Linked DNA regions of Homo sapiens: region 1 is linked to region 2. Evidence: promoter capture Hi-C in human tissues and cell types (Jung and others, 2019). All regions are on one chromosome and are shown on one strand. Each heading gives the region's core, a stretch centred on a gene start or on the middle of the fragment in contact. The rest is flanking DNA. Distances are from core to core; before and after follow the strand shown. Region 1 overlaps ENDOD1 (endonuclease domain containing 1). Region 2 holds the start of FUT4 (fucosyltransferase 4).

Region 1 (4,445 bases), core at 1,946-4,445, 560 kb before region 2:
AGGAGAAGGGTGGATTCTCGAAGGAGCAGCATGGCAGCAGGTAGCAGGCCAGGTGTGGCCCTGCTGCTGATGGGCAACTGGTGTGAGTGGAGACAGCGCCTCAGAGTGTGGGACACAAGTGGGCAGCCGAGTTTGGCAGGCTGACCTCCAAAGACAAAGCAGAGGAGTCTGCCACTGCACTGAGACGGTATGTTTATCCATCAGTCTGAACCACTGAATTGAAGGGCCAGGGCCAGTGCCCAATTATCTCTGTGTTCCCAGACCTAGCATGATGGTCCTGCACACCAGGGAGTGACTGGCATTTGTTGAAAGAATGATCTCATTTGAGCTCCACAACAATCTTCTGATGCACATAAGATTTCCTCCAATTTGCAGATGAGTCTCCAGAGAGAACTGGCTCTCCTCTAATTCTGCTCCTTGATCTGCTGCAAGGAAAAGGTGGTCCTGACAACAGACCATCAAAGTGGTTATTAAACTCTCAATGACTCTGACTCATGGAGGGTGGAGTTTCCTTCCCCTGGAGAATTTTAAGCTGAGGCTAGATAAGCACATGTAGGGGATGATTCCGACAAGATCCTGTGGTCAGGAGATGACCTAGGGAGCTATCCAACTCCGTGGGGACAAAGACGCTATTTCCTTAGGGGTTTGTTTTATTTTTCAACAAGAGTTAAAATAATAGAATGAGCTGAACAGTGGGTGTTCCCATTTTATTTCTGCTGTGTGAACTACAATATAGGCACACACCCACACACACTGGGATGTAAAAGGAATGCCAACACCCCTGCTGCCATCATCAGGTGGGTCAAAGAGCCCCTCCTTAGAAAAGATCGTGGGTGCAGCTGATAATGAGAACATCAGATAATCTTATCAGAGCTGCCTACAGGGGCCTAAAGGTCCTCTGCACAGTCACACACAGTAGGATGAACTCAATCTGAGGCTCGGGTGAGTCCTAGGAGAACCTACTTACCATGGGAAATACCCAGCGAGGGAAGGAGCTGCTGCCTTTCAACAATGGAGGGGGAGGATGGTGGGGCCACAGCAGATTAAGGACATTTGAGGAGGAATAAAGCATGAGGCCTTTTCAGCTCTCAGGAAAGAAAGTGCCAACCCACCCATTTCAGGAAAAAAAAATCTTCCGTGCTTGGCATCTAAAATACTCTTTATCCTCTTGGGAATAGAAACCGCTTTAGAAGAATTAGGGGAATGCTCATTTTTCTTTTTTCTTTTTTTGGGTGTCTGTGTGTGTGTGTGTGTGTGTGTGTGTGTGTGTTTAGAAAAGAGAAATGCAGAGCTTTTCATTTCCTGAAAGGCCTTTTAGCAGAGCATGTCCTTGTCCTCTCCGCCTTCCTCCAGTGAATCACCCTTCCTCTGGGCTCCCAGCACCACTCACACACCTTCCTGGCTGTGGGAAGAAGGACGCATTTCCAGCTCTGGCCTGTGCTGTGCACACCCGTAGGTGTTGGCAAACTGTGGGAAAACAAAGACAAATGGCTAAAGAGCTCTCTCCCGAGTCAGAAGACGGTGGAACGGAAGATAAAACGTTCGAAAGGGTGGGTGTTCTACTTGCATTTCAGACTTCCCTTTTTCTTGATTAGTTGAAAAAATAAAAATAAAAGGAGGAATTCTTTAAATTCACCAACTCCAAACTGGCAATAAATGCAGGCAAGAAAGCCCTGTGTGAAGGCCAATGGGTGGCCTGGGGGCAAACAGACTCTCCCGGGGACACCTCTGGCTGCTCATCACACACAGCGAGGAGTTTCAAGCTCCTCCAGGGAGCCTAAGAAAATGTGCGGACTCCGGCCGGGCGCGGTGGCTCACGCCTGTAATCCCAGAACTTTGTGAAGCCAAGGCGGGCGGATCACGAGGTCAGGAGATCGAGATCATCCTGGCTAACACGGTCTCTACTAAACCCCGTCTCTATGAAAAATACAAAAAAATTAGCCGGGCGGAGTGGCGCGCGCCTGTAATCCCAGCTACTCGGGTGGCTGAGGCAGGAGAATCGCTTGAACCCGGGAGGCAGAAGTTGCAGTGAGCCGAGATCGCGCCACTGCACTCCAGCCTGGGTGACAGAGCAAGACTCCGTCTCAAACAAACAAAAAAAAGTGTGCGGACTCCTTTAAGACCTTTCCAGACTGCAGTACCTTCTCAGGTTACATCAGCCCTGGTCTTCTTTGGTTTCCTTCCACGTTACTCACAGAAGCCTGTTTTCCACTCTGCTATCCTTTCCAGAGCAATTATTCTTAGCATTGACTGTGTGGTACAGAATTCAGAGGAGTCCCTTACATTGAGAAGGCTCCATTTCTAATTTTTTCCACCTTCTGAGTTCAGACAAGATCAAAGGTTCTTAGGCCTGGCTGCACATCAGAATCACCTGGGAGCTTTAAAAATATCCTCAGGCCTCACCCAGACCTTTTTTTTTTTTTTTCTTTTTGAGACTGAGTCTCGCTCTCTCGCCCAGGCTGGAGGGTAGTGTCCCGATCTCTGCTCACTGCAAGCTCCGCCTCCTAGGTTCACGCCATTCTCCTGCCTCAGCCTCCCGAGTAGCTGGGACTACAACCCAGACTTCTTAAACCAGTAAAAAAAAAGTTCCCCTCCACCCAACCCCAGCATCAGGGTGTTTTTAAATTTCCCCAGGTGATTCTAATACGATTGTAATAGGAACCATGGGGCTAGATCTCCATCAGGTTCTCATTGATCACTCTCTGAAGGAATTAAGCCCCTACCTTGACAGCCACTGCAGGAAATTAGTGATGTCTCCTTAAATCAATAGTTCTCAAATTCAACTGAATTAAGGAGACATCACTAATTTCCTGCAGTGGCTGTCAAAAATGCAGACTCCTGTTCTTCACCACAGAGATACATTCTATTCAGTATGTCTGGGGTGGGACCTCCATATGCATTTTCACCACCATCCCAGGTGATGCTGACGGGGGAAAGGGGGGGGTGTCTATGAACCTCACGCTGAAAAACAAATGTTTAAATCATTTTGGGGAGTGCCCTGGCTAAGCTTAATTTATTCCCGTGATATTGAGAGAGGAATTATCCACAAATCGCAAGAGCTGTCATAATGCCAAGGTAGAGAACAAAATACTGTGGGTCCTTTGGATCCTCCACCTATTAGATCAGCTAATATTCTGATCATGTAACATGTGTAAGCAAGGACTTCCTTCCTCAGTCCTAGGTGGAGTGAGAAGTCTACTTTTGCTATGCATATTCCTTTGAACATTTCACTACTCTAACACCTTCAATAACATCCTATTACTTCCTGATTAAATGACAAACTGGCATATTCATAGGCCTCCCCGCCAAATTTCTCCAACTTCTTCTCTCAAACCTTCCTTTATATTCAACCAGAATAGGTCAATCCCCCCACTCATCCATGTCAGTTACATGGCTGTAATGTAAATGCGCCCCACTTCTCTCTACAACTGCCCCTGTCACTACCAGCTGGGGATGCTTTCACCATTCCTCTATGCTACCTAAATCCTATCTGGGTGCCAAGCCTCAGCTCTGACCTCACAGCTCCTGTGCTGGGTGTCCATCCTTTGTCTTCCAGATCCATCTCCCCTCTTCTCTGCCCTACTCTGCATCTGGGGAGGCTGATTGATTTAGATGGGAGGCTGACTTTTATGGGAGGCTGACTTGTAGGAATCACATCAGCTGAGCCCCGTTGCCCTCTGGCTTCTGACTGGAGCCATCAATGGGAAGGCGGGAAGAGAGAGGGACCAGATCATACATTCATTCCCTTGCTTCCCTGCCTGGCTGCTGTGGCTCTGGCTCTGGCTGAATTTTTGTACAGACACGGCTCTCACCAGGCTCCTACCCTTACCCCACAGGCCTAGGATGGTCACAGCTTCCTGCTGTTGCTAGTCCCTAGGTGCATCCCCATAACTGGTTGGCTCTCTTAATTCTTGTGCCTTCTGCATCCATGGATTCCACAACTGTGGATCAAAAATATTCAGGGAAAAAATTTAATAATACAACAATAAAAATAATGCAAATTAAAAAGGAATGAGATCTTGTCCTTTGCAGGGACATGGATGAAGCTAGGAGCCATTATCTTCAGCAAACTAACGCAGGAACAGAAAACCAAACACCGCATGTTCTCACTTATAAGTAGGAGCTGAACAATGAGAACACATGGACACAGGGAGGGGAAAAATACTCACTGGGGAAGGGTGGGCTGAGGGGAGAACATTAAGGAAACAAGCTAATGCATGTGAGACTTAATACCTAGGTGATGGGCTGTTAGGCACCGCAAACCACATGGCACACATTTACCTATGTAACAAACACACATCCTGCACATGCACCCCGGAACTTAAAAAAAATAGAATAATTCAAAAAAATAAAACAAGACAGTATTACAACTATATACACAGCATTTACATTGTACCAGGTATTATAAGTAATCTACAGATGATTTCAAGTATACAAGTAGATGT
Region 2 (4,524 bases), core at 690-3,189:
TTTTTTCCCATAGAGCAAAAATGGGTGTTTGAAGAACTTACTCCCATGATGCGGCAGTCAAGGAGATGCACAGTAGAGGATCAAAAAGCTGACAACTTGGCCTCCCCTGGGTCGCTTCCAGGGGAGCGCGGCTTCACCGCTCGAACCAGCTGGCCAAGTTCCGTATGCTCTTGGGCCGGTCCCCAGCCCTCTGTACAGCCTGGCACACCCGGCACCAAGGCTCGTCCCAGAAGGAGGTGATGTGGACAGCGTAGCTCCGGCGCCAGTGGAAGTAGCGGCGATAGACCGCGGGGTTGCGGTCGAGGAAAAGCAGGTACGAGGCCAGGGAGGAGGCACTTGGGAAGTCGTCCACGTGGATGAAGGCGCCGCGGGGCACAAAGCGCTCGTAGTTGGCACGGTCTGGGCCCAGCACCACCGGCACCGCCCCAGCGAGCAACGCGTTGCGCCAGAGCTTCTCGGTGATATAATCCAGGTGCTGCGAGTTCTCGAAAGCCAGGTAGAACTTGTAGCGGGCCACTGTGTGCAGGAGCCCAATTTCGGGCACCGGCTGCCCCGGCCCGCCCCGGCCGAACACGTCCACGGTCACATGTTGGCTCAGTTGGTGGTAGTAGCGGACCCGGGCCTGGCGCTCGTCCCAGTGGCTCACCACCCATGCCACCAGCCCCTGTTTCCTGGACAGTGGCGGGGCCAGGCCTGAGGGCGGGTCGCCGGGGTGGCTTCTGGGGTAGAGGTAGCCATAAGGCACAAAGACGTCCGAGTCCGCCCGGTAGGAGAGCGTCCAGTTGAAGAGGTTACTTGCCAGGCTTCGCAGCCCCGGGGAGTGCGAGGGCGACTCGAAGTTCATCCAAACCCAGCGCTGGCCCGGGGGCCTGGGGCTGGAGGTCGCCAGGGCTTCTGCCGCCGCCGCTGCCTCCTCGTAGTCCAACACGCGCAGATCCACCTCCTCGGCAGTGTGCGCCTGGATGCCCCAGGGCGGGGGCCAGTCGGGGGGCCCCTTCACGAGGTCGCGGTGGTGGAAAAGCACGGCCTGAGCCTCTCCGTAGGACGCGCGGTCGGTGAGCAGGCGGCAGCCGCTGATGTTGAAGCGCAGCCGGCAGTCAGGGGGCGGCCTCGGGGCGCTATCGCGCCCCCCGAAGGGCTCCCACCACAGCAGCACGCCCACCGGTCGCGACGGGGTTGGCGACGCCCAGGGCAGCGGCGGCAGCTGCCCCCAGCAAGCGTAGGTGATCAGCGCCGTACACGTCAAGCCGGCGGCCGCCAGCACACAGACGGTCCATGGCAGCCCCCGGCCTCGGCGCCACCCGCGCCGCCCGCCCGCCGCCGCCGTCGGCGAGCCCCACGGTGCCCCCATGGCGCGAACAGGCAGCGCTGCCTCCGCTCGCCACGCGTCCGCAGGCGTGGAGGAGCGGCACCGGCTCTCATGCTGTAGCTGCGGCTCCAGCCGTCGCTGCCGCTCGCCGCTGGCCCGGGAATGGAAGGGGGCGGTCCCAGAATGCAAAGGCCGCGGGCCCTGCCCTGCTCCTCCCAAGTGCCGGGCGGGGCGAGCCGCCAGGGCAAGGTGAGCTGGCCAGGACGCCCAACCGGGCACCGCCCGTCCCTTTCTTCCACTGCGCCCGGGGCCCAGCCGGCCCGACCAGGCCCCGGGAGCCTCCTGCGGCGCCTCCGCCCACTCCTTCTCCCAGCCCGCGCCCGAGGGCTTCCGGGCCGCGCCCCACAAGCGCCTCATCCGCTACTCTTGATTCTCTCTCAACTGATCCGGTTTCCCTCTGCGCGCGCCCACCGCCCTGGCCCTCGCTCACTGTGGCCCGAACCCTCGCCTTCCAGAGGGAAGGCCCGGTTCATCCCTGGGAAGGTACAGGAGGCTCGAGACCTTCTAAAGCAGCTGCCGCGCAGGAGCAGGCCCTAGAACAGACGGAAGGCGGACCCGGCGCCGCGGAACGGAGGATAGCGTCGGCTTCCTGCCGTTGGGCCTAGCCACCCGCCAGCGACGCCCGCCGGAGGGAGGGATTGAGGGAGGGAGGGAGTCCAGAGGCCGGGGGAACGTGCGAGCAGAGGCGCGGCCACCGCATCCGTGGCCAGGATCTCGTGGCCCGCCGAGACGGTCGAATTGTGGAGGCAGCCCGCAGCGGCGTGGCCTTCAGAGTCTCTGCATTTGGTGAAGAACTTAAGTTTTCAATGTGAGTGCTCATAAGAACATTTCCTTTGCCTGCCAGCCCAGTAAAGGATAGAGAACAAAATGTTTTCTTAGCAATCAAAACATGTTCTTTCCTTTGGTCCCCTACCAAATAAGTCTGACTTGCCGGCTCATAGTAGTATTGCTTGTACCAAGACGCACAGGACTCATAAACCAAAGATGAAGATGTGACCCCCCCAAGGCCCTTGTCGTCAAGGAATTTATTGCCTGTTCAGTGAGATGAATGAATGAATATCACTATTAATTTTACCAAGCACTTAAAAAACATTTTCTGCACCCATGAAAGTTATGCAAAATAGTTTGGATGATAAAATGATGACGAAGATAAATATTCTAGCACCCAAGTTAAGGGTGTAAAGACAGTATCGCACTGGCCTCTTCTACCTTATTAGGCGACACTGGAGACATCTACGTCTACAGTCACTTGAGAAATTTTTTACCTACGGGTTGAATTTGAATTTCTGGGTGTTCGCTTTGGTTTATGATATTCAACTTTTATTCAGGGGATTTCCAAATAGATCAGGGGCGGGGCTGCTGACCTAAGGAGAGGAGAAAGTTTTGAGAGAAGTTTTAGTAGATCACAGCTGTGCATCAGTGGAGTCCCACTGATACTAGGGGAGAAATAGACAGTGCTGGGAATGGGGCAATCCTGCCAGGTGTTTTTGATGTTATGCCTACAGAAAATAAATTTGCGTTAGCCATATGAATTTAAGAATGTTTTCATTAAAAATCAAGTATAGGCCAGGCGCGGTGGCTCACGCCTATACTCCCAGCACTTTGGGAGGCCGAGGCGGGCGGATCCCGAGGTCAGGAGATCGAGACCATCCTGGCTAACACGGTGAAACTCTGTCTCCACTAAAAATAAAAAAAAATTAGCCAGGCTTGGTGGCGGGCGCCTGTAGTCCCAGCTACTCGGGAAGCTGAGGCAGGAGAATGGCGTCAACCCAGGAGGCGGAGCTTGCAGTGAGCCCAGATCGCGCCACTGCACTCCAGCCTGGGCGACAAAGCGAGACTCCGTCTCGGAAAAAAAAAAAAAAAAATCAAGCATTGTGTGTAAAAGCTTCTATAAAAGTGGCTTCCGGGTGGCGCTCTCTGCAGGGCCACAGCCTCAGTTTGGAGACTAGATGGAGGATGTTAGGTGTTCTGGCTAGGCCCATCAACCTAGTAACATTTCCTCCTGCACAGTAAAACCTTTCATAATGCTTCTGGGGTTTTTTGTTTGTTTGAAAAACAGAAATTAGAAATCAAATATTTTATTTGAAATTAGACATTTCAGTGACTTTTTTCCACTCTTACTTTTAATTAAAAGAAAAAGCTATAAATGCACAAATTACTTGTTTAAACGAAATAAAGGAAAAAGTGTATTGGCTTCTCTTTTTATGCAATTCAAGAATCCAGCCATTTATTCACATTCTTCTCCCTCTTCAGTTAAATAAGACATCACAGATAGAGCCTAACATTGTGTCTGGCACGTGGCCGGTAGGCATTTGGGAAATATTACCCTGCTTGATTGCTTCCTTCCACCACTCCCGATTTTCTCTTAAGCCTCCGAATGTTCCAATTAAGCCATCTTTTTACCTGAAGAATGCCCGAGGTCTCATGCATATCAATTTTCTTTGTGCCCTCTTACCTCGGTAGGGTTGAGACCACAAACTGCCCCTACTATACCCTTATTTGATGTGGGAGGAGGGGATACTAGGTAGTAAGGTGTGTCTGGATGAATGGAAACCAGTCGTGACTTCGCAAATTGCTGGTTGAAGGTCATACGTGATCATTGTGCATCTCATACATGCACAAACATTCACAGGGGACTGGATTGTTCTTATTTTAAAAGAGCCATTGGTAGGGTAGAGGAGAAGGAAAGGGAGGAAAGGAGTTATGGGAAATTAATAAATTTACTCACTTGTTCATTTAACAAATTGGGAAACAAATGCAAAACACGGTTTCTACCTTCAAAAATCTACGAGAGAAACAGATAGTGGGGAGGGAAGGGATCATGGAAGGCTTTGAGGAGGTGGCTCCTGGAATAATTAGGAATCATTACAATGCAGAGGAAGAGGGCTGAGGTGTTAGTTGCCACAGAGGGAGCAGCACTGCAGAGGCCAGGGAGGGAAGACTGGGGCAGTAGGCGAGGAATTACTAGGGTATAGTTTGGCGAAGGAGATGGTGTTTATCCTGCAGGCTGTCGAGAAAGTCCTTGGAAGGCTTTAACAAAGGAAGGAAGCGATATTCATTTTTAAAATGAATTCTTATTTTTATTACGTATAAGGAGGGTGAGTATATGGATGGGGACACGGGGGGGCTGCGGAATGCTGACTGTTAATGTAGGC

What was found. Contacts are between HindIII fragments. The study calls those that stand out against the background at their distance.
Region 1: a fragment that was not itself captured here is called in contact with the fragment with the promoter of FUT4 in region 2 in 1 of the 25 tissues and cell types used here (spleen).

The regions. Positions count from the first base shown.
Region 1 is chr11:95,105,320-95,109,764 of GRCh38, reverse strand. The region is part of intron 1 of ENDOD1 (endonuclease domain containing 1); the gene reads right to left. Among named protein-coding and RNA genes, the nearest start is that of ENDOD1, 18 kb to the right of the region's middle. RefSeq lists an enhancer at 450-1,649. The HindIII fragment of the contact is 5,781 bases long and covers 305-4,445 here.
Region 2 is chr11:94,541,336-94,545,859 of GRCh38, reverse strand. It overlaps FUT4 (fucosyltransferase 4), which reads right to left and starts at 1,939. Exons shown (of 1, transcript NM_002033.4): 1 at 1-1,939. The coding sequence starts at 1,726. The coding sequence ends at 134. It overlaps PIWIL4-AS1 (PIWIL4 antisense RNA 1), which reads left to right. Exons shown (of 5, transcript NR_135093.1): 5 at 14-528. RefSeq lists an enhancer at 1-362 and a silencer at 1,182-1,751. The HindIII fragment of the contact is 7,218 bases long and covers 1-4,200 here.